Regions from separate parts of the Homo sapiens genome. Here region 2 is linked to region 1. The links are contacts of gene promoters, found by promoter capture Hi-C in blood cells and fetal thymus (Javierre and others, 2016). All regions are on one chromosome and are shown on one strand. Each heading gives the region's core, a stretch centred on a gene start or on the middle of the fragment in contact. The rest is flanking DNA. Distances are from core to core; before and after follow the strand shown. Region 1 holds the start of MTURN (maturin, neural progenitor differentiation regulator homolog). Region 2 overlaps ZNRF2 (zinc and ring finger 2).

Region 1 (5,918 bases), core at 539-3,038:
AGGGTGGGTATTTGAGCACAGTCACAGAGCCAGAACTCAAATCTGGCTGTCACACAAGGCCATCCCTCTTCTGGAGTGCCACTTGTGGAATGCCCAGGTGGATCCCTGCCCTCCTCAGGGGGTGCGTGTGGGCGGAGGGAATGCTTTATCGGCCAGGCATACATAAGCCTTCACCTCTCCAGGACCAAGAAAGGCGGTCTTGCAGTCTCCCTAACTCCTTCGCGAACTTCCCGTAGGTGGTCAGGGCGCTCGGCGGCAGGACCACGGCCCAGCTTTGTCTCCCCCACCTGAGGAGCGTGCACCAGGCCGCGCCCCGCACCACCCCACCTCCGCCCACAAGGCCCGCGACCACACGGTCACCCGCGCCCACGGCCGCCTCCATCTTACATTTGGGGATCATTATTTATTCCCCGACCTTGGAAACACTTCATGAGCACCGTGCTCGCCCTACTCCACCCCTCCCACCCCGACTCCCCTGCCCTCCGCATCCCCTTCCTCAACTGCCAGAGTCGGGATCCCAGGTGGGTGCAGGATTCAAAGTGGAAGGTTTGGACACCGCAGTCCCAGTTCCCGGTCCCTCTGAGCCGGGGCTGAGGGGATTCCCCGTCATCTGGAAAAGCCAACGGGCTTCAGCAGGGCCAGGGCACCGCCTCGGCTGGAGAGAACCCGCCCGGGCCACACACACCTCTCGGGCAGCTCAGAGAGGCAGCGAGGGCAGCGCGGGGGCAGGGGGAGAGGCGTGCCGCGTGTGCGCGTGAGTGTGCGCGTGTGAGGGTGAGGGTGTGAGCATGTGTGTGTGTGTGTTGGGGTGTATGCGCAGGCGCGCGTGCGTATTAAGATCCGGGGTGTAATTCCGCAAAGAAGGTCCAGGAGATCGGGCATCGCTAGTATGGACAGAGCTTTGTGTCCAAACAGGCAGTGCAAGGACTAACCCGCGAGGGCGGGGAGTGGGGTTCTCCCGGGAGGGGCAATGCGAGGAGCCGAGGCTGGGCACCGGAGGGGAGCGGGATTCCTATCCCGGACGGGACGCCTGGATGTGGGAAGCTCCGGACCTGGGCTCCTGCCGGAGGGTCCGTGCGCCCCAGACCCGGCTGGTCCGACGCGGGTGACACCCACACCCCAGGGATGCTCCATGCCAGGCACCGCGCACGGGCCGCGAGGTCGGGTTCCCGAAACGGCGCCCGCAGCAGCGGGGAGAGGAGTGGCCTTTAGGGGGACGCCACACCTCCCGCCCCGACCCGGCTCCCCGGATCCTCCGGGCGCCTTGCCCGCCGCCCACCGGGCCCCACCCGGGCAGCGGAGCCCGCACCGCCCGGCCCGGGGCTTCCCCGGCGGAGCACGCGGGGCGCGGGGCGCGGGTTACGGCCCCCCACTCTGCGCCCACCGCCGCCCACCGCGCGGGAGCTCGGGCGCAGGGACGCACCGCCGCGTCCACACTCCCGCCGGCTCCGGCGGTCCCTCCTCCAGGCACTCACAAAATTGTCGCCGCAGCCGTTGTCCGGACACAGCACATAGAAGGAGACGCCGGGGTCGGCGTAGAAATCCATCCTGCGTTCGGTCTCCTCGGTGGCGATGAGCTCGAAGGGCGTGTTGGAGCACCATTTCTCCGCAACGTCGGCCAGCTGCTGGAAATCCATCGCGGCCCCGCGCCCGCCTCCCGCCGCCGCCCGCCCTCCCGCTCCTAGGCGCCCTCCTCCCGGGCGGGCAGCGCGGCGCTCGGCTCGGCCTGCGCGGGCTCCTCCGGGGCCGGGCTGGGCCGGCTGGGACTGTTTACATGCGGTGCGGAGTGGGGCGGGCGGCGGCCGGGGACAGCGCGGCGCCGCGCCCGCGGCTCCTCCTCCGCCCCGCCTCCCCCCGCCCCCTTGCGGGCCGCCGTGGGGGTTGGCGCGGCCGGGCCGGGACGCGGGGCGGCGGGAGGAGCGGCCGGCACCCCCGCGGGCGCCCGGATTTTCCTGGGCGCTCCCGCCCCCCCTTTATTTTTAAACAAACCCGGAGCATCCCGGGGCCCTGGCCATCGCGGTGCCGCCCCGGGCCGTGACGTCATGGGCCCCAGCCAATCACCGGAGCCTGAGACCGCGCCGCGGCTTGCGAGCCCGGTGACGTCACAGCGCGAGCCTGGAATCCGCAGCTCCGCGGGTTACCTGGAAGCGGTGCGAGCGCCCAATACCTGGTTAGCGTTTCTGTGGAGTTAGAAAGCCCAGGAAGCGTTTGCCCAAATGCGATTTAAATGCAAGGGAGGCCATAGAACTGCAGATAACTTGGACCTTGTCTGGGGCTAGCAGTGGAGGAGCTGAGAAAATCTAAGGAAAAGGGAGCTTTTCTTTTTGCAGAAACCAAAGTTCTGTTCTCCGATTGATTTAAGGGAATGTGTCTTCTTAATGCATTTATCAGACACTAATATGAATGTTCACTTGCAAAGGGCGTGTGTGATTTTTTATTTGCGTTACGTAAAGCTGAATATTTCTTAGAAATGAGCCTCATAAGACTGGCTTCAGTATTATTCAGCTTGAATTCACATTGCATAACCTAAAAAGGTCAAGAGGATAAAGCACATTTTAAAACAAGAGTGTGTGGCCCAACGATTGCACCTGTTGAGTGCTCACTGGCTGCCATATACTGGACAGGCATTACTGGATTGCAGAAAATGCACTAGGGTCCTCGCCCTCAGGACTTGAACACTACAAACACAGACACGTTATAAACATTCAGCCAGCTTTTTTCTGTAAAGTGTGTCTTCTGAACCAGGCACTGTGCACGAATTTACATTCCCACCAACACGTATATATGTTTCCTTTTCTCTGCACCCTCACCAACATCTGCTGTTTTTTGACTTTTTAATCATAGCCATTTTGACTGGTGTGAGATTGTATCTCATTGTGGTTTTAATGTGCATTTCTCTGATAATTAGTGGATGTTGAGCATTTTTTCATATGTTCGTTGGCCACTTGTATGTCTTTTTTGAGAAATATCTGTTCATGTCCTTTGCCCACTTTTTAATGGGTTTTTTTTTTTTCTTGTTGAGTTGTTTGAGTTCCTTGTAGATTCTGGATATTAGTCCTTTGTCAGATGCGTAGTTTGCAAATATTTTCTCTCATTCTGTAGGTTGTCTATTTACTCTGTTGATTGTTTCTTTTACTGTGCAGAAGCTTTTTAGTTTAATTAAGGCCCATTTGTCTATTCTTGTTTTTGTTGCACTTCCTTTGGGGTTTTAGTCATAAATTATTTGCCTAGGCCAATGTTGCAAGGAACTGAATTCTGCCAACAACCCGAATGAGCTTGAAAAGCAGATTTTTTTCTCAAACTTGTTGTCTTTTCCAGACAAGAACTGAGCCTGACTATTACCATGATTGCAGCCTTCGCAGAACCTGAGCGAGAACCCAGTGATGCCATGGCTGTGCTGGGACTTCCGACTTTCAGAACTGTGGGCTATTAAATGGGTGTTGTTTTAAGCTGTTAGGTCTGTTTAAATTCTTCATGCAGCAGTAGAAAACTAATACACAGGACAATGAAGGAGACAGGCACATGAATATAAAAATGCAATATGCTGTTGTAAAGTTACAAAATGGTCCTTAAAAAAAAAAAGTATGGGTGTCTCCAGATAGCACAAGCTTCCTTGCAGTTTTACCTGGCACCACCATTTAAAGCATAATATGTGTTCCAAAAATGAATTCCTTAAATTGGAGATGAAAATATGAAAAATACATTCCTTTTTTCCTTTTTCGGGAAAGAAGGAGTTTTTTTTTTAATCCATGTGTTTTAAAATGTATCAGTCAAATTTGCTCCAAGTGATGTGATCAGAATTATGAAGTTATGTTTATTTAACAAATAGTTTTTGTCAGAAAATGAAAAACTCTTATGAAAAATAAAATTTTGGGTACAAAGCAATTGGTCAATGAAATGGATACCGTTGGGTTTCCTTAGAAATGCACTGAGAGCAACAGCAAAAGCTTCAGAACTCCATGTCTGCATTGATTCCTCCCTCTGCCATTTTAAGTTTTATGTGCATCTGCAACTTCCTTCATTGCTCGGAGCTCAGTTTTCTTTTCTGAAAACAGGGACAACAGTGAGATAAAGTATATAAAGTCCTTATCCCAGAACCTAGCACATAGTAAGAACTCAGTAAATGCCATTATTACTCTTAATCTACTTCTTAGGGATGATGTGTAAGAAGATCAGCTAATGAATTTTTAAAGTGAAATTCAGGAGTGATATGACTGGTAATATTGGTCACAGATGAACCTAAATCTCATTTTTTTTTCCAAGTCTTTAGAGCAGGGTTTCTCAGCAGCAGCACTATTGATATTTGAAGCCAAAAATTCTTTGTTGTTGGAGGCTGTCCTGCACATTGCAGGATTTTTAGCCACATTCCCTGGCCTCCACCCACTGGATGCCTGTAGCATCTCCCTCTACCCTCCCCTCTCTCCACTGTGACAAGCAAAAATTTCTCCAGACATTGCCAAATGTCCCCTGAGTGCAAAATTACCCCTACTTGAGAACCACAGATTTAGAGAGAAAAGTCTTGCAACAGTCGTGTTTTGGTCATTTTTACTAACTAGTGGAAAGGGTATGCACATAAAGCAGCTGAAATTCATCCTGGAAAGTTCATCTGCAGAAGTTGCTTGAAATTTTGTTTCCTTAGAACAACTGGTAAAGCCACCAGTTGCTTAGCTAAGAAGATCATAAACCTTTGCCCTGCCTCCCTCCTGTTTGGGGAGAGTCCTGTGAGGCATCCCAGGTTGTAGGGGTGTATTTAGGCCTCATGCACAGGGCAGTGGTCATTTCAGAACTCTAGCCAGGTGTTTTGTGCAGCCAGTAGGTGAGGAAACACCAGGGCTACCCATACCCCCTTTCTTGTGTTCCCATAGCCTTTGGCCATGGTTTGGAAGTAGAAGGAAAATTAAAACTTCTCCCCAGCCAGGCGTGGTGGCTCACACCTGTAATCCCACCACTTTGGGAGGCCAAGGTGGGTGGATCACCGAGCCCAGGAGTTTGAGACCAGCCTGGGCAACATGGTGAAAACCTGTCTCTACTAAAAATACAAAAATTAGCTGGGCATGGTGGCATGTGCCTGTAGTCCCAGCTACTTGGGAGGCTGAGGTGGGAGAATCCCTTGAGCCCTCGAAGTCGAGGCTGCAGTGAGCCATGATCACACCACTGCCCTCCAGCCTAGGTGACAGAGGGAAACCCTATCTCAAAAAACAAAACAAACAGACAAAAAAACTTATCCCCACCAGTAGGCAGAGTTGTACAGTCTTCATTGTATTTAAGGAACGTTTCTGTTCATTTATAGAAATCTGGACTTTGCTGTCTCTGAAAATCACCATTTGCCTTTGGGAGATGTGTGTTGGCAAGAAGAGGAGACATATTCAAACCCCACTGGCTAGGACATCAGGAGCTCAGTATGGAATGCAAAGGCCACCCTAGACTGTCCTGCTAATGCTGACTCTTCTGCCCATCTCTGTTTTGAAGTTCTCCATGGCTTTTATTCTAGTGTAAGTTTGATGTTAACATATAATTTGACCTTTGATTCACTCCTATATTGTAAGTCCGTTAAATTAGCCCTAGTTTTTGATAAATCTGCTCCATCCACATAGCCTTGTGGTTATGCAGTAGGAGGAGGTAGGCAGAGAGGGAAGCGTAGCTGGTTCCACATTCACCCTTCACCTGAACGCAAGGTCGTCTCATTGTATCAAGAGGGACTGTAGACCCCAGGTTCCAGGAGACGGTGGTCAGGAGAGAGGTGTTTGATTTGTCACAGTTGTGATGGGAGAGGTGAAAAGACCATAGGATCTGGAGAAGTAACTCCCAGGAGAGCAACACAGGAGGGATGAGAGCTGTCTTCTCCCTGCACTGTGCTCCAGAACAGTGAGCCCAGCAGTGGGGCGGGGAGGATAAGTAGAGGGCAGACATGAGTTAAG
Region 2 (6,282 bases), core at 3,032-5,531, 210 kb before region 1:
ACTGGAAAAGAGCAATGATTACGATTTTTAACCAGAAGTGGGCACTAGAATCACTTCAATGGGTGCATTTTCAACATATACCAAAAAATTATATGTACCTGAGTCCCACCCCTGGAGATTCTGAAATATATGCCTGCCTCACAAATGCGACTGCTATCAAAGAATAGCTTGTTTAAGTAGAAAGAGCCTAAGATTTAAAGTTGAAAACTTAATATGAATTTCCATTCTCACGAACAAAAATGTTCGTCAACCTCAAGTTTCCTTTTATTCTTCTGTTAAAAGTACTCAAAATATTAGAGATGAAATTTTAAAGAATTGTGTGAAAAAACTTTATAAGTTATAAAAAAACACTATACAAAATGTTAGTTATTATCAGATAGTACTTCATGCACCTCTCCAAAAACAAAGTCAGTCATCTTCCTATTTCTTTTTCTCTCCATCTTGGTATTCCACTTGTTTCAAACCTGAACAATGTCATCAAATAACTCCATGAAGACCAGGAACTTAGGCGCCTATTATAACTGCCAGGCTGGGAACAACTCCAAGCATATGACACTGTCTAATTAATTTATGTTTTGGCTTCATTCTATATTTTAAAAGGATTAAAAACGTGTACTTTTTAATGTGCTTTTGACATATTTAAGTCACATGTTAATCCTATGAAGTAACTATTGTTACCTTCATTTTACACATAAGGAAACTGAGGCTCAAAGAAGTAAAGTAACTTACCAGAAGTTACTAAACTACTAAGTCCTGAGGTCAGGATTCAAATTTAGACTAAGTCCTTGGCATTTTTCCTACTTCATGAATTCTGCTACAAGAAACAATTTCACTTTAAAGCAACGTAAATACCAAAGCAACTGGACTGTTTTAAACAACTAAGTTTTAAATACTCAAGCTACATATTTAGAGGAAGTACTCTCAAGACTGGTCACACGCTTTATCTTCTGGATAAAATAACTGAAACGACCTTACAATTAACTGCTTACACAATTTAAAACAGCTCTGTCCAATAGAACTATGGACGGTGATGAAAAAACATCTTTTATCTGTGCTGTCCACAATGGTAACCACTAGCCACATATGGCCTGAAAACAGCACTTGAAATGTGGCCTGTGCAACTGAGAAACTGAATTTTTAATTTAATTTTGGTAAAATATGAAACCTTAAAATATATAATAGGTAATGAATATACATTTATAAACTAGTTACAAACTTCTGTTACTTGATATTTCACTTACAGCTTCTCAAGCTCTTAAAATTTGCATTGTCCAAAGAAATTACTTAAAATTCAAGCAGCCAAATATGCAAAATTAAAATACTTAGCAGGTCCAAGCACATATCCATATAGTTATTGCAGATCAAGACGACATGGAAAAAAAAAAAAGCAAACAGCCAAAATTCTTTAAAAAAAAAAACAAAAAACCAAACCAACAAATAAGACTGAATTTGTTAGGCAGCCAAGGAAACTTCATGCGAAAATTTCATAATCATCACAACTTTATTTTCAGATCAAGCATCCAAACAGGTATATGATCTTTTCAGCAAAATACAACGCCAAGCGCTATTATGGATCAGGCATTTTACCTGAAGACTTATTTTTTGTTCTTGAACCCTCAATGATAGCAGTAGAAAACAAAAGCAGCTGAAATGTGAAATAATCCCTAGAAAAATCAAGAATTAAAAAAATTTACAACATTAGTGAAAAGCAATTACTCAAAGAACAAAAAGTTGGGGCTCACAAGTTTTAATAATAAATACTTTCAGATATTAAGTTATCTCTTATACGTATAAAAGAACGTAACATTAACTAATTCTTTCAATTACAGATCCATGAGCTATTACTGTACTCAAATATAAATAGGCTTAGAAATGATATTTAACAAAGGGAAGTTGCCATTTTCACTGTAAGATAAATATATCAGTAAAAATATGGGAATAACGTTTATTAATCTGGGCTTCTCTGCCTAGATGCCACTGAAAATTACTTTTTCAATGCCTCTCTAGTTTAAATGTAACTAAGAATTGATCGTTAAACATGTAGCTACTCTTCATCTGCACTGTTAGAAACTTAATGCAAAATTAAGACTATTCTTTAGGAGGAAATAAAATTTGTTACTCTTTTGATGATGACTTTTTAAAAAAAGTTTATACTCTTGGGAATATTCTGGAAATCGAAATTCGGTGAATTCGCCAAGAAAATGTAACTAAAATAAAATGGAACACAAATCACAAACTCTAAAAGCTACAATATACAAAAGGAGCACTAATTCCACACCTAGACATAGCTTTCTTGGGCCTTTTTGCTCCTAACTTACCTTAAAAAGCTAACTCAGGATTAAGTATTTTATAAGTATTGAGTATTTACCTAACAAGCCACAAGTAGTCACACAAGTTGTCTAGGAAATTATTAGATTACCAAGTTATTTCCCAACCATGAAATCAAACTAAGATAATTTTCCTATGCCCTCTCATTGTCACAAATCAACAATAAACTAAAACTTAAAATCAATTACACTGATTTGTTAAAACCTAAACAAATATTTTCCTAAATGAGTTGTCTACATGAACAAGAAAAAAAATGGAACTATTGAATACAGACCAAAATAGAATAAAGTATACTTTGAAGTAAAATTTCAGGTTCATTTCTATTCAATCACTAGGAGAGAAAAGCACCAGTCCTGAAAACACAACAAAGCTAATATCTTTATCTGATTTTCAAGCTTATTACTGTATACTTTTAAAATTAGACAAATGTTTAAATTTTAATGTATGTAGGCTCATAGTGGCAATAAAAGAGTCCAGCAATCTGGGTAATACGTAGCAATTTTTTTTTTTTTAATTTACAGTTTAGTTTCAAACTCCAACTCTTCCAATTTATTATGGAATATAACAGGATAACAGTACCTACCTCACAGGGTAGTGGTAGAAATAAATAATACCTCTCAAATGCCTAGTGAGATACCTGGAACAGAGCAGGTATGTTCTGAACACTAGCTACGTGATTATTCGCAAGAAGGGAGTCTGAGTTTGTTTTCTGCAATCTTAAGTGGTAATAATGATAAAACCTGCTTGACCTGTCTCTTAGGATCCTTGTGAAGATCTTAGGAGATAATGCAAATGAAGGCAGTCTCATGGAAAAAGAACAGGCTTGAGCTTTGGACAAGTCACAAACCTCTTTGAGCCTCATTTTCATAAAATAAATTGCAAGTGATAATACCTACATCTCACATGGTCTTTAATACGGATGATTAAAAATAAATCTAATGAATGTGAAAATGTGTAAAAGGCACTAAATGTTAGCTGATTGTAAACAAAATTTTACTACAGCAATATTGAAATAAGCTGGAAAATGCCAATTCACACAGCTATGACAACATACAACAATAAATATCAAATGTTACATCAGAACTATCATTACATTTATAAATCTGGATTCGATATCATTTTGTTAGAATGAATTTGAGGAGTAGTATTACAATGTGCATATCTACTACTGTTTTTGTTGAAAGTGAAGTATGTAAGTAAGGCTTTTTCTCTTCTGCTTCTTCTAGAGGCTATGAGATAATTAGCAGGCTGACTATAATCAGTATGCATGGGTCACAAACTCAGATGCCTAAAGATGCAGCTCATCTTAACTATTTTATAAGAAAAAAGAATAGTACAATTGTAACAATAAATGCCTGTTGAATTTGGTCTTGGTTTCAGGGATTTTTAGAGAATGGAAGCAAACCGGTACATGTAGTCCTATCAAAAAGGGGCAGCTGCTTTTACGAGTAGAATGCCATGGGAAAATAAAGGCCCAGGGTGGCCAGATGTATATTAAAGCAGGTGGAAATATAGGTATTCAGATGAATATTCTCATTTGTGAATGCTCAAAAAACATTTCTGATGCTGTGTAAGCAAAATAAAACATGGCTGTGAGTCAGATGTGGCCAATCCTTTGCCACCTCTGTATTAAAGAAACAGGGTAAATTCTATGAGGGCAGGGGACCTTGTAGATTTAGCTTATCCCAGCATGCAGCATAGTGTTTTGCACATTCTAAGTGCTCAATAAATATTTTTTGAACAACTAATGAAGCAACCGATCTCAGAAGACTAAGGAAAACACCAAGCAACAAGTGAAGAGCCAATGAACAGAGAAAATGCCCCAAAGCAATGGGTTGTTGTTGCCACTGACTTGAGCACTTTGACTGCTTGTGGTTTTGGTGACTCAGCTGAAGTCAGATCTTTTTTTTTTTTTTTTTTTTAACATTTTTAAGTGTATTGACTTCTTTATACAGGAAGTGCGTGTCAGCCACTCAACCAAAAAGTACTGAATATATAAATGTGCCAAGTTTACCAATAAATGCTTGCATGTTTATTAGTATATGTGGGTGAAGTATTAAAAGTATGTATGAACAGGAAAAATATTTAAAATGTCCATTCCTGAGATATTAAGGCAAAACATAAAATTCTAACATATTTAGAAAAATCAAGTATCTAAGAACCAGCAGCTCTGGCTAAATTAGAACTTATGCAACATGAACAACTGAGAAATCTTTCTTGATCCCCTTTACCTTGCTCCTAAACTACTAAAATAACTGTGACTAATTGCTGGATCCTGGAGAATATAAATCTAGATTCATCTGAAACCTCAGGTAATGTAACCAACCATGTGAAAATCAAGAAACAGCAAGTGTGAAGTTATTTTGTTTTATTTTATTTTTTTTGAGACAGAGTCTTGCTCTGTTACTTGGGCTGGAGTGCAGTGGTACAATCTCAGCTCACTGCAGCCTCTGCCTCCTGGGCTCAAGCGATTCTCCTGCCTCAGCCTCCAGAGTAGATGAGACTACAAGCATGTACCACCATGGATTTTTTTTTCTTTTTAATTGTTCTAAGGAAAGGGTGAAAAACACATTGATTTGGGAAAAGGTTTATTTCTTTTCACTGGACTTGGTCAATGTCCTCTAATCCTTAAACTGCCCAAGCAGTCAGCAGTACCTAAGTGAATCTAACAGAGCAGGGAGGAAGGCTGCTCTCACTGACACTGAAAGCACCAGAAAGAAGCCAGAGTTGGGATGAAAATGAAAACTCTCCCTGCTCCAAGGAACAATTTCCAAATTCAAACAAAAATTCTTCGTGTGACAGGCTACTGACCAACAGGCTCACAAAAGAGAAATAACTTTCATTCTATTTTTTTCTATTTGAGAAAAAAGATAACAGTATGACCGACATAGGTAATGAGAGATTCTGTAACTCGTAACATTATATAACTGAGAAAGATCATTAACTATGTAAGTATATGCAGGAATGGATGAGGGGGAATCACACCAAAAAATTTAAATAGGCACCTACTATAGGGACAGAATAAATGAGGGAAGACAGGAAGGAAGGAGGCAACAATGATGACAACTTTACCAGTAAAAATTCCTAGAATGAAAAAACCCGTAATTTTTCAATTTAATATTTCAGAGGCAGTGAAAAAGTCACTGAAAATAACAAATTAGTAGTCTAGAATAAATATCATGTAAGTAACTCCAAAGAAACCAAAAATCATTAATAAAACTGTAAGAAGACAAATCTAAAAACTCTAATATTAAAATTACAGAAGTCACAGGAAGAATAAAAGGAACAAACAAAAAACAATCAAAGAAATACTAGAAGAAAGTAATCCCTAGGCTAAATAAGACTTGATTTTAGACTGAAAGGGCTCATGAAGTCTCAAGCAGGATGAATTAGAGATAGGAATAGAGTGAAAAAACACTTAAATAGATGCAGGATTAATTAGAGATGGGAGTACGGTGAAAAAACAAAAAAATTCTGGCTTTCAAAAATAGAAATTATGTTGTAAGCTTCCAAATGGAAAGACTAGGTTATTAAAATTAAAAAAAAATAGTGAGACAAAGCCAGACTTCTTATCTACAATACTGCAAGTTAAAAAGTAGAATAACTTTGGCCAGGCACAGTGGCTCATGCCTATAATCCTAGCACTTTGGGAGACCGAGGCAGGCGGATCACCTGAGGAGTTGGAAAACAGCCTGGCCAACATGGTGAAATGCTGTCTCTACTAAAAATACAAAAATTAGCCAGGCGTGGTGGCAGGCACTTGTAATCCTAGCTACTCAGGAGGCTGAGGCAGGAGAATTGCTTGAACCTAGGAGGCAGACGTTGCAGTGAGCCAAGATCGTGCCACTGCATTGCAGCCTGGGCAACAAGAGCAAAATGCCACCACACGCACAAAAAAAAAAAAAAAAAAAAAAAAAAAAAAAAAATCAGACTTAACAGAAAAAAAAAAACACT

Evidence for each region. Contacts are between HindIII fragments. The CHiCAGO score rates a contact against its expected background, and 5 or more counts as called.
Region 2: a contact is called between a fragment that was not itself captured here and the fragment with the promoter of MTURN in region 1, in 1 of 17 cell types (total CD8 T cells). The highest score is 5.3, in total CD8 T cells.

Annotation. Positions count from the first base shown.
Region 1 is chr7:30,130,856-30,136,773 of GRCh38, reverse strand. MTURN (maturin, neural progenitor differentiation regulator homolog) reads right to left here and starts at 1,788. Exons shown (of 3, transcript NM_152793.3): 1 at 1,476-1,788. The coding sequence starts at 1,637. LOC105375216 (a long non-coding RNA gene) reads left to right here and starts at 2,060. Exons shown (of 3, transcript XR_927146.3): 1 at 2,060-2,170; 2 at 3,319-3,457; 3 at 5,291-5,918. RefSeq lists silencers at 661-840, 1,161-1,300, 1,493-1,870, 1,641-1,890. The HindIII fragment of the contact is 5,435 bases long and covers 1-3,148 here.
Region 2 is chr7:30,346,143-30,352,424 of GRCh38, reverse strand. All of the region lies in intron 2 of ZNRF2 (zinc and ring finger 2), which reads right to left. Among named protein-coding and RNA genes, the nearest start is that of LINC01176, 42 kb to the left of the region's middle. RefSeq lists a silencer at 3,978-4,272. The HindIII fragment of the contact is 3,111 bases long and covers 2,726-5,836 here.